3 separate regions of the Homo sapiens genome follow, and all the other regions are linked to region 1. The links are contacts of gene promoters, found by promoter capture Hi-C in human tissues and cell types (Jung and others, 2019). All regions are on one chromosome and are shown on one strand. Each heading gives the region's core, a stretch centred on a gene start or on the middle of the fragment in contact. The rest is flanking DNA. Distances are from core to core; before and after follow the strand shown.

The links. The method cuts DNA at HindIII sites, captures the fragments that hold promoters and counts their contacts. A contact is called where the count stands out against the background at its distance.
Region 2: a contact is called between a fragment that was not itself captured here and the fragment with the promoter of APOBEC2 in region 1, in 1 of the 25 tissues and cell types used here (lymphoblastoid cells).
Region 3: a contact is called between a fragment that was not itself captured here and the fragment with the promoter of APOBEC2 in region 1, in 1 of the 25 tissues and cell types used here (thymus).

What each region holds. Positions count from the first base shown.
Region 1 is chr6:41,051,925-41,054,624 of GRCh38, reverse strand. APOBEC2 (apolipoprotein B mRNA editing enzyme catalytic subunit 2) reads right to left here and starts at 1,423. Exons shown (of 3, transcript NM_006789.4): 1 at 1,147-1,423. The coding sequence starts at 1,277. The HindIII fragment of the contact is 7,265 bases long and covers 485-2,700 here.
Region 2 is chr6:40,689,902-40,692,601 of GRCh38, reverse strand. No RefSeq gene overlaps it. Among named protein-coding and RNA genes, the nearest start is that of LRFN2, 100 kb to the right of the region's middle. The HindIII fragment of the contact is 4,010 bases long and covers 1-2,700 here.
Region 3 is chr6:40,545,422-40,548,121 of GRCh38, reverse strand. The region is part of intron 1 of LRFN2 (leucine rich repeat and fibronectin type III domain containing 2); the gene reads left to right. Among named protein-coding and RNA genes, the nearest start is that of LRFN2, 41 kb to the left of the region's middle. The HindIII fragment of the contact is 3,923 bases long and covers 1-2,700 here.

The DNA.
Region 1 (2,700 bases), core at 174-2,673:
AGGAAATAGGATGCATTTTCCCTTAGGTTCTCTTGAAAATCAGAAAACATCTGAGCTGGAAGGGACCTTACTACTATAGATCTTCATGTTATAAGTGCTAAAACTGTGGCTGACTGGAAAATCACTTGTCAAGCTTGAAATATCAAGTCCAAATTGCCACTCAGGGCTTCCTTTCCCCCTTGAAAGCATCATGCCTCCTTTCTTCCTGAAACTTCTCTTAGTCTCGCACCCACTCTGCCTGTGGTCATTCCTGGAGACCCCATGAAGGGAACGTTTGGTTCAAGGAGGAAATATGGCCTCATAGATTCTCTTTTTATTCTTTGCTCAGGATTTAGAAGGGTCTTCCACTACAGGAATAGAAAGGGAAGAGGAAGAAGACTACTTAGTTTTATTCCTGGAGATGGCATAATCTGGATAAGACAGAGGTACCCTGCACACAGCCCCCTCCTTGCAGTCTGTAGACCCTTTTCTTTGGGTCCCAGTTCCTCCAGGCAATGCCTGAGCATGTTGGAACAGCTCCTGTGTCCATAAGCTCCTGGGCTGCGTTATCTGCATGTAATTTCTCTGTTTCTCTGTGGGACAGCCCCTGAGGAGACTCAAAAGATTTAATAAGAAAAAAGCTGCTTCTGAGTCTTGGGAAAGGATGGATCTATCTTTCCTGTCTTGGGAGCATCTACTCCAGGAAGAAGCTCTAAAGAAAGGGCTAGAGGCCTATGGCTAGCGGAGAGACCCACTCAGGAACAGAGAAGTTGAGGGGAAGGGTTGCTTTGAACGGAGCCACATATAGATGTGCCAGTCTCATCCTCTGTCCTCGCCAAACTCCCTGGGACTAAGCTTCTACCCAGAGAGGCAGGTGGCCATCCCAATACCAGGAGGCCTGAAGGGTGGTTTTATTCTCTGGGCTTTTGCCTCCAAGGAGCTCCTCCTACCTCTCCCTGATTAGAGAGCCCAAGGTGTCACCCTGAGAAGCCAAGAGAATTTGCTGCTGGGTCCCCTACCACCCCTGCCGGGCCCACTGGTGCACTCTCACTGCTGCAGGGTTGTAGCTGTCCCTGACGCCTAATATAACCATCCTGAATTTCCACAGCCTAACCCAAGGCTGCACTCTTCTAGGGAGCAGAACCCTGACCCACATCTGAGGCTTACCCTGTGACAATCTCAAAGGGCGGCAGCTCAATCAGCTCTTTCAGCTTCTCAGGGTCGTCCAGGTTCTCCAGATCCTCCCCATTCTGGGAGGCAGCCTCAGTGGCCACAGCAGCCTCTTCCTTCTGGGCCATGGAGGGGCTGTGGCTCAGGAGTCACTGAGGGAGAGGAGAGAGGCAGGCAGGTCTGGGCCAGGCCCTGGCGGCAGAGTCCCAAGCAGCTGTCAGCAGCTAAATCTGGCTGGGGATGACGGGAAAAGGACCCAGCAGGCCAGGCTTCGTGCTTTCCCCACTTAGCCACAGGCTTTATAGCCAAGGCCTCCTGCCCCTCCCCCAGGCTCTCTCCCTCTATCTTTTTTTAATTGAGTGACAGCGGGTGCTGGGGTGGGGGAATGGAAAATCTGGCCATTAGTATCCCCTATTTATCAGTAGGCAAAGACAGGAACCTGGCAGGTGGGTATGGCTTGGCCTGCTCTCTTCTCCCTCTCCCTCTCAGCTCACCTTATGTTCTCCCCTTTGTTTCCCACCCAAATTCCCTAGCTCCACTGGGGGAGAGTGTGGAAGGGGCCCCAGGGCAGGCATCCTGAGATTTAGGAGGGTGGCCTTCTGAGATTTAAACAGGAGGAGATGTGTGTTGAAAGGGGCTGACTGCAAAAAGACCCAGGCCATTTGCTTTGGGGGAACGTGGGTTCAGGAAAGGAGGGGTCCTGGCAGAGGTGGGATCAAAACTGACAATTTGGGGAGTAAGTGTGTGAGTTATGACTCAAAAGCGGTGGGTGCTGATTTGCCTGTTACAAAGCCATAATGTAATGTCAAATCGATCAGGAGCCTCCCTGAGTAACAATAGCTGCCATTTACTTAGCTCAGAGATTTTGAAACAGGCCAGGCAGTGGGTTTAGGGGTTTAAATGAAATCAGATGCATGCTTGCCACAGCCATGGGAGGCGATGTGTATTATCCCAAGTTACAGGTAAACTGAGTCACAGAAGTGTGCAGAGCCGGGATTAAAATGCAGGCTTTTGTACTTCAGGCCAAATATTCAACCTCCATGCTATGTGCCCTCACAGTCAGTCTTTTATTCTTCTTAACAAATATTTATTGAGTATCTACTCTATGCCAGGTGCTGTTTCAGGTACTGGGAATATGGCAAAAGAACAAAGCAAATGAAAATCCCTGCTGTGATGATTTGTGGAGCTTGAGGAACTGAACAACAAATAAGGTAAGTAAAATACATGGTCTATTTTGTGATGACAAGTGCCAAGGAGAAAAGACAGGAAATGGAAACAGGAAGTGCTAAGAGGTGGGGTTACGTACTTATAGGATGGCCAGGGTGAAGGACTTTGAAAAGGAGACAATTGAAGAAGACGTGAAGAAGGCAAGGGAACTAATCATTTGGTTGTCTAAGAGGAAAGCGTTCCAAGGAAGGGAACAACGTGAGCAAAGGCTCTGAGAAGGGAGCATTCCTGGGGTGTTTGAGGAACTAGCGAGGACATACATCTGGGTGACTGAAGAGTTCTAAGAGATTAAGCCAGAGAGATAACAAGGGTAAAAGGGACTGG
Region 2 (2,700 bases), core at 107-2,606, 360 kb after region 1:
CAGCACAGAAGTGCCTCATCTCACCAATGGGTCATCATTTTGGGGCATTTATCACTCTCCTGTGATGACTCAGAATGATGCTTCAAATAATTATCATTACATGTCATTCATTTGTTCTCTCCTGCAAAGGCCTTGCTCATTGTTGTCCTTGGTGTTGTGCTAGACAAAAGACAGATTCCTAAGACAGACCTCGCCCTCAAGGAGCTCACAGATGATCAGGGGAGACAGGGGACTCATGGCCTCTCAAATAAGGTGAGCAATGCTTCTGTAAAGGAACCTTTGGATCTGCACCCCATGGGTGTTCTTTGTGTGGAGGAGCCTTGGGGATTGCTTAAGGGCACAGGCTCTGGAACTGCATGGCTGTGGTTGAATCCTTGTTCCTCTCCATTTATGAGCTGCATGACTATGGGCAAGTCACTTAACCTCTCTGGGCCTCCATTTTCTATCTATGAAATGAAGATAATGATGGCACTCATCTCCTCGGGTTGTTATGAGAATTAAACAAGGTAATACTTGAAAAGTGCCTGGCACAGAGTGAGCATTCCTCAGTGTTAGCTCTTACTACTTTTATCATTATCCTCATCTTCATCACAAACTCAGAAGGAGTCTTCAGGGGAGGAGTTGCCACAGAGGAGAAGCTTCATAAGGCATATGACATTTGAATTGGGCAGGAAAGGTGACATTTTGCCAAGGGGAATAATCAGGAGAAGGAAAGCTGGAGCAACAGCATAGGCGAGGAAGTATGGCAATGCAAGGCACACCCAGTATAACAGCCAGGCCTCTGAGGTCTCTGGAGTGCAGAGAATGTGGGAGAGACAGGACCCTGGGAGGCAGGTTGGGGCCAGCTTGGGAAAGTCAAATTAAGCAATCTGAACTTTACTCCCCAGGAAAAAGTGGTCCTGAAAGAGTTTAAGAGAGGTGACATGATGAGCTTTGCCTTGGGAAGAATTATGGGGCAGGAGGCTGCTCAGAGGGGCCACATGAAAGATGGCCAGGGTTTGAGCTAAGGCAGTGGCTGTGTGCAGGCATTTAGACACTGTGAAACTTCAGGGACAGAGGGGAAACTGGACCGCTGTCCCTGTTAATAACCAGAAACGTGTTAGAAGCATGAGGTGAGATGATTGGGCTTCCAGCTGCCTTAAGCAAAGGCCTCTAGGCAGATGGAACCAGAGCCATGGGGTCCCCCCACCCAACGTTATCCACTTTAGAGCCACCCCTCCGCCTGCCATTGGTGAGCTGTGGCCCTAGCCTCACCCGGGAGCAGCACCGTGGTGATGGCTCTGCACTGGGGGACAGGGCATAGATGTCACTTCAAGAGTGATGGGTTTTGGAAGCTTGGTTTCCAGGTCTGACTGGGCAACTCACACCTAGCCGTGTGAGCCTACCAAGTCTCTCTGAGCCTTGGTTCCCCTCTTTTGTAATACGAGGACAATAGTAGCTACTTCAGAGGCTTATTATAAGGATTTAACGTCATAATGAATAAAAGTGCCTAGCTTAGGGCCTGGTGCCTAGGACTTCTCAGTAACGGTAAGTGTTGGTTGTTATTATATCCCCAGCAGCACTGACCTTGTGTTCCCCTCATCCCACCCATCCCCAACCCACACGGTTGAGAGCTCCCTCTGTCCTAGCCTTTCCTCATCATATCGTGTAAAGATCCGGAACTCCAAGACAGATTTCTGGCTGGCACAGGGGAGAGGTTTCTTCCAACCCTTGCACCAATCCAGATTCCTTTTCCATTTAATCCTCTTATTTTATTGAGATATGTGATGACCTGCACTTTACTGTTTAGGGTGTCTCATTATCCAAATGGAGTCAAAAGAGTGGCCACACTGGAATCTTTGAAGTTTTTCTTGGAGACAGAGGGATGACAAAATGCCCCAAGGTGCCCGGCCCCTCAGCCTTTGCCTAAGTGTCTCAGTGCCCTTCTCTCTTGCCTGCTGGCTTTTAGCCTGGACCTAGAAACAGATTCTGCTGCATAAGGTGAGAAAGCCACTGCTGTGTATTGCCCCCATGTTTATTTCTAATCAGCTTATGGCACCGGGGAGGCCGTGGCTGGATGCTCTGCATCCCTGCAGCCCATCTCCTGCTGCTGCACAGATCCTCTGAGATGATTGAAATGTGATGTGTGGGCTTAGGAAGGAGAGAGGGAAAATAGCGACTCAGACCACAGCAGTTGTCCTGGTTCATTGCCTATGCTTCCCACCCTCCACCGGGCACCCTCCCATGCTAGGCTGCCAAACTAGACATAACCCTTCCACCCAGCCCATACTTGGGAACAAAGCCAAGTGTCTTCTTTTCTTCTCATTCTCACCTCACTCCAGCAAAGCTGGGTTGCAGGGAAGCAACTAGGGGCTCAGAACACTGGGAAGGGGAAATGGTGCAAAGGCCTTACTTCTCATGAAGCTGTCTCCAGATTCACACCACATGATGCCAGGAGGAAGCTCCATGTGGGAACCACAGCCAAAGCCCCAGCTAGAATTCTGTCAGGCAGCTTTGTGTAGATCCTTGTGCCTTGTAACTCTCTTTCTCTTCTGGTCAGCAGCCCTGGCTGAGGCCCCTACCCAGGAGATATGCCATGGAAGTTGGAAGCCTGTGTGGGCAGAGACCTTTGGATGGTTTACCCCGTATTACTTGTACTTAATAAAGTAATGGAAAGGGGGAATCTACAGGGTAAGGATAAAAGAGCGAAGGTTATTTTCT
Region 3 (2,700 bases), core at 183-2,682, 510 kb after region 1:
AAAATAGATGAGAAAACTGAGGTTCTTATGTAAGTCACATGGCTGGCAAATACTAGAACAAGATTTGACCCAAAGTCTGCCAGGCTTTAATAAAGATGATGCCTTCTGGCTTCATCTAGTTGAAGCTGCATATTGTTCAGGGTCCCATCAGGAAACAGAAGACACATTCAAATGAGTTATATTAAAAGAAACTATTTACAAAGGTGTGGGGATGGCATAGAGAAACCACAGGGTTAGTGAAATACCCTGGGGCTGGTAACACTGGGAGGCTGTTACCTCCCCTAAACTTGGAGGGAGAAGGGAGGCAGTAGTTCCTGGACCCCAGAGAATATGTGAGCAGTATCAAAAAGGTGTCTCACCAGGTATGTCACCTTTGCTTGCGGGCCAGACTCGTGATGAGGAAGCTGGGGGTAGGAGGATAAATAGCCCAAACTCACTCTCCTTTCTCCCTCCCATCTTCTGTTGATCTTCCCAGTTGACCTCCCCTATTCAGGAGGCAGAGGGCATGATGCCCACTGGTGGGGGCTGCACTGACCAGCCTCCTGGACAATGACCAGGGTGAAGAAGGGTGTACTGTGGACCTGGAGGGTCAAATGGAAGATGCCCAGTATAGGGGAACTAGGGCGCATACACTAAATGGTGTAATAGAGCAGGTGTTAGGAAGCAGGAGTGTCACCATGGTTTTGGGCCACTAACTGACATTTAATTAAGGTTTGTGGCCAGGCGCGATGGCTCACACCTATAATCCCAGCACTTTGGGAGGCTAAGGTGGGCAGATCACCTGAGGTCAGGAGTTCGAGACCGGCCTGGCCAACATGGTGAAACTCTGTCTCTACTAAAAATACAAAAATTAGCCAGGTGTGGTGGCATGCACCTGTAGTCCCAGCTACTCGGGAGGCTGAGACAGGAGAATTGCTTGAACCCAGGAAGCAGAGGTTGCAGTAAGCCGAGATCGTGCCACTGCACTCTAGCCTGGGTGACAAGAGCAAAACTCTATCTCAAAAAAAAAAAAAAAAGATTTGCATTATTGCCATTTTTTTTACAACAGAAATATACTCTTACATCCGTAAAATATGATAGCTGCAGTTTCTTGAATCCCCACTTTATCAAGTACTTTATATATTACTGTATTTCAAATTCTCTCAGTAATACTAGGAAGAAGGTCCTATTTTGTCTCATTTGACAAATGAAGAAACTGAGACTCAGAAGGGTAAAAATAGTGCAGAAGTTAAGACCAGGGCTTTGAGGTTGATTGCTTGAGCTCAAACTTGACTCTATCGCATACTCACTCCTTGCCTCTAGGCCTGTTATTATACCTTTCTGTGTCTCAGTTTCCTCATCTGAGAAATTAGATAAATCTAGTTCCTGCCACATAGGGTAGTGAACCCATATACACAACACTGAGAACAGTTCCTGGAAGAGTCAATACTCAGTAAACTTAAGCTCTTGCTATTCACAAAGTGGTCCAAGATCACAAGGCTTGGAAGCTATAGAGCTGGGATTTGAATCCAGCTGGACTCCAAAGTCAGTGAATCTCACCTTATTATCTCATCTGATTCATGAGAGTTGGTTAAGCCAATGAGGACATATCATGAGAGGCTTCCTGGACTTCCCACCAGTGTTGGCCAGGAGGTAGTTTAGGACTTGAGCCCAGCTACTCACCTTTGCCCCTAATAAACCTGAATCAGGTGGTTTAAGAAGCTATGGGGAGACCTGGGGTCAATATCGGCAGGTCACTGAGATGAATAATGCACCTTCTTCCCAAGGAAGAATGAGCCCTTAGGTTACAACGGGAAAGTTTTGTGCAAACTTTTGGAACATGCCAGACCTTTAAGACCAAGTGGGCACATCAGAGCTGCATCCTCAGCTGCATTCAAGGCCCCGCTTCTCTGGGCTGTTCCTCCTGTGCTGCCTGTAGCCAGAGCCAGCCAATCACCCGCTGACTGTGCGTTGTCATGCAAATTCCCTTTACCTCCCCTCTCTCAGCCCGTTTTGCCCAGCCAAGCTGTGATCCTCAAAAACAGCCAGGCAGCCTGGTCCCTCTCTCTGGAGTCTCCCCATTGTCAAGAGTGCAGGATGGAGCCCACAGAAGCTACTTGTCTAAAATGTGGTTAGTTGACTGCCAGCGCTAAAATATTATCATTCAACAAATAGCTATTAAATTCCTGGGCAGGCATGATTCTAGGAGCTGAAGATACAACACCAAAAGAAAAAGAAACAATTTTTAAAAAGTCCCTGCCCTCATTAAGCTTATATTTTAAAATACTTCTCTACTCATGGGCCAAAGGATGTTGGCAGCCTTCTTTAGAGGGGCCGTGGTTGACCTTTTCATCTCATGAGACCCAGGCCCTGGCTTCATTCCTCCTCCAAGTGCCTCTGCCTCATCCTTTTCCCCTGCTTTTCCTCTTTCTCTGCTCCCTTACTTCTCTCTTTCCCTGTCCCACTTTCCTCTCTTCCACTTTCCCATTATCCTCTCCCCTCTCTCTTCATCTCTCCCCAACCTTCCTGACCTCCCCTCTTCCTCTTCCTCTGCCTGGGGCCATGGCTGTGTGTCTCTGCCTCTCCCCTCCACCACTCCACTGCAGGCAGTAACCCACTTAACATGCTCCAGGGGTTGGCCCAGTGCTTAAACATGAGAGAGAGGGGAATACAAATCACTCAGTCAGTTTGTTTTCAATGACCCATCGTTGGTGCTGCCCA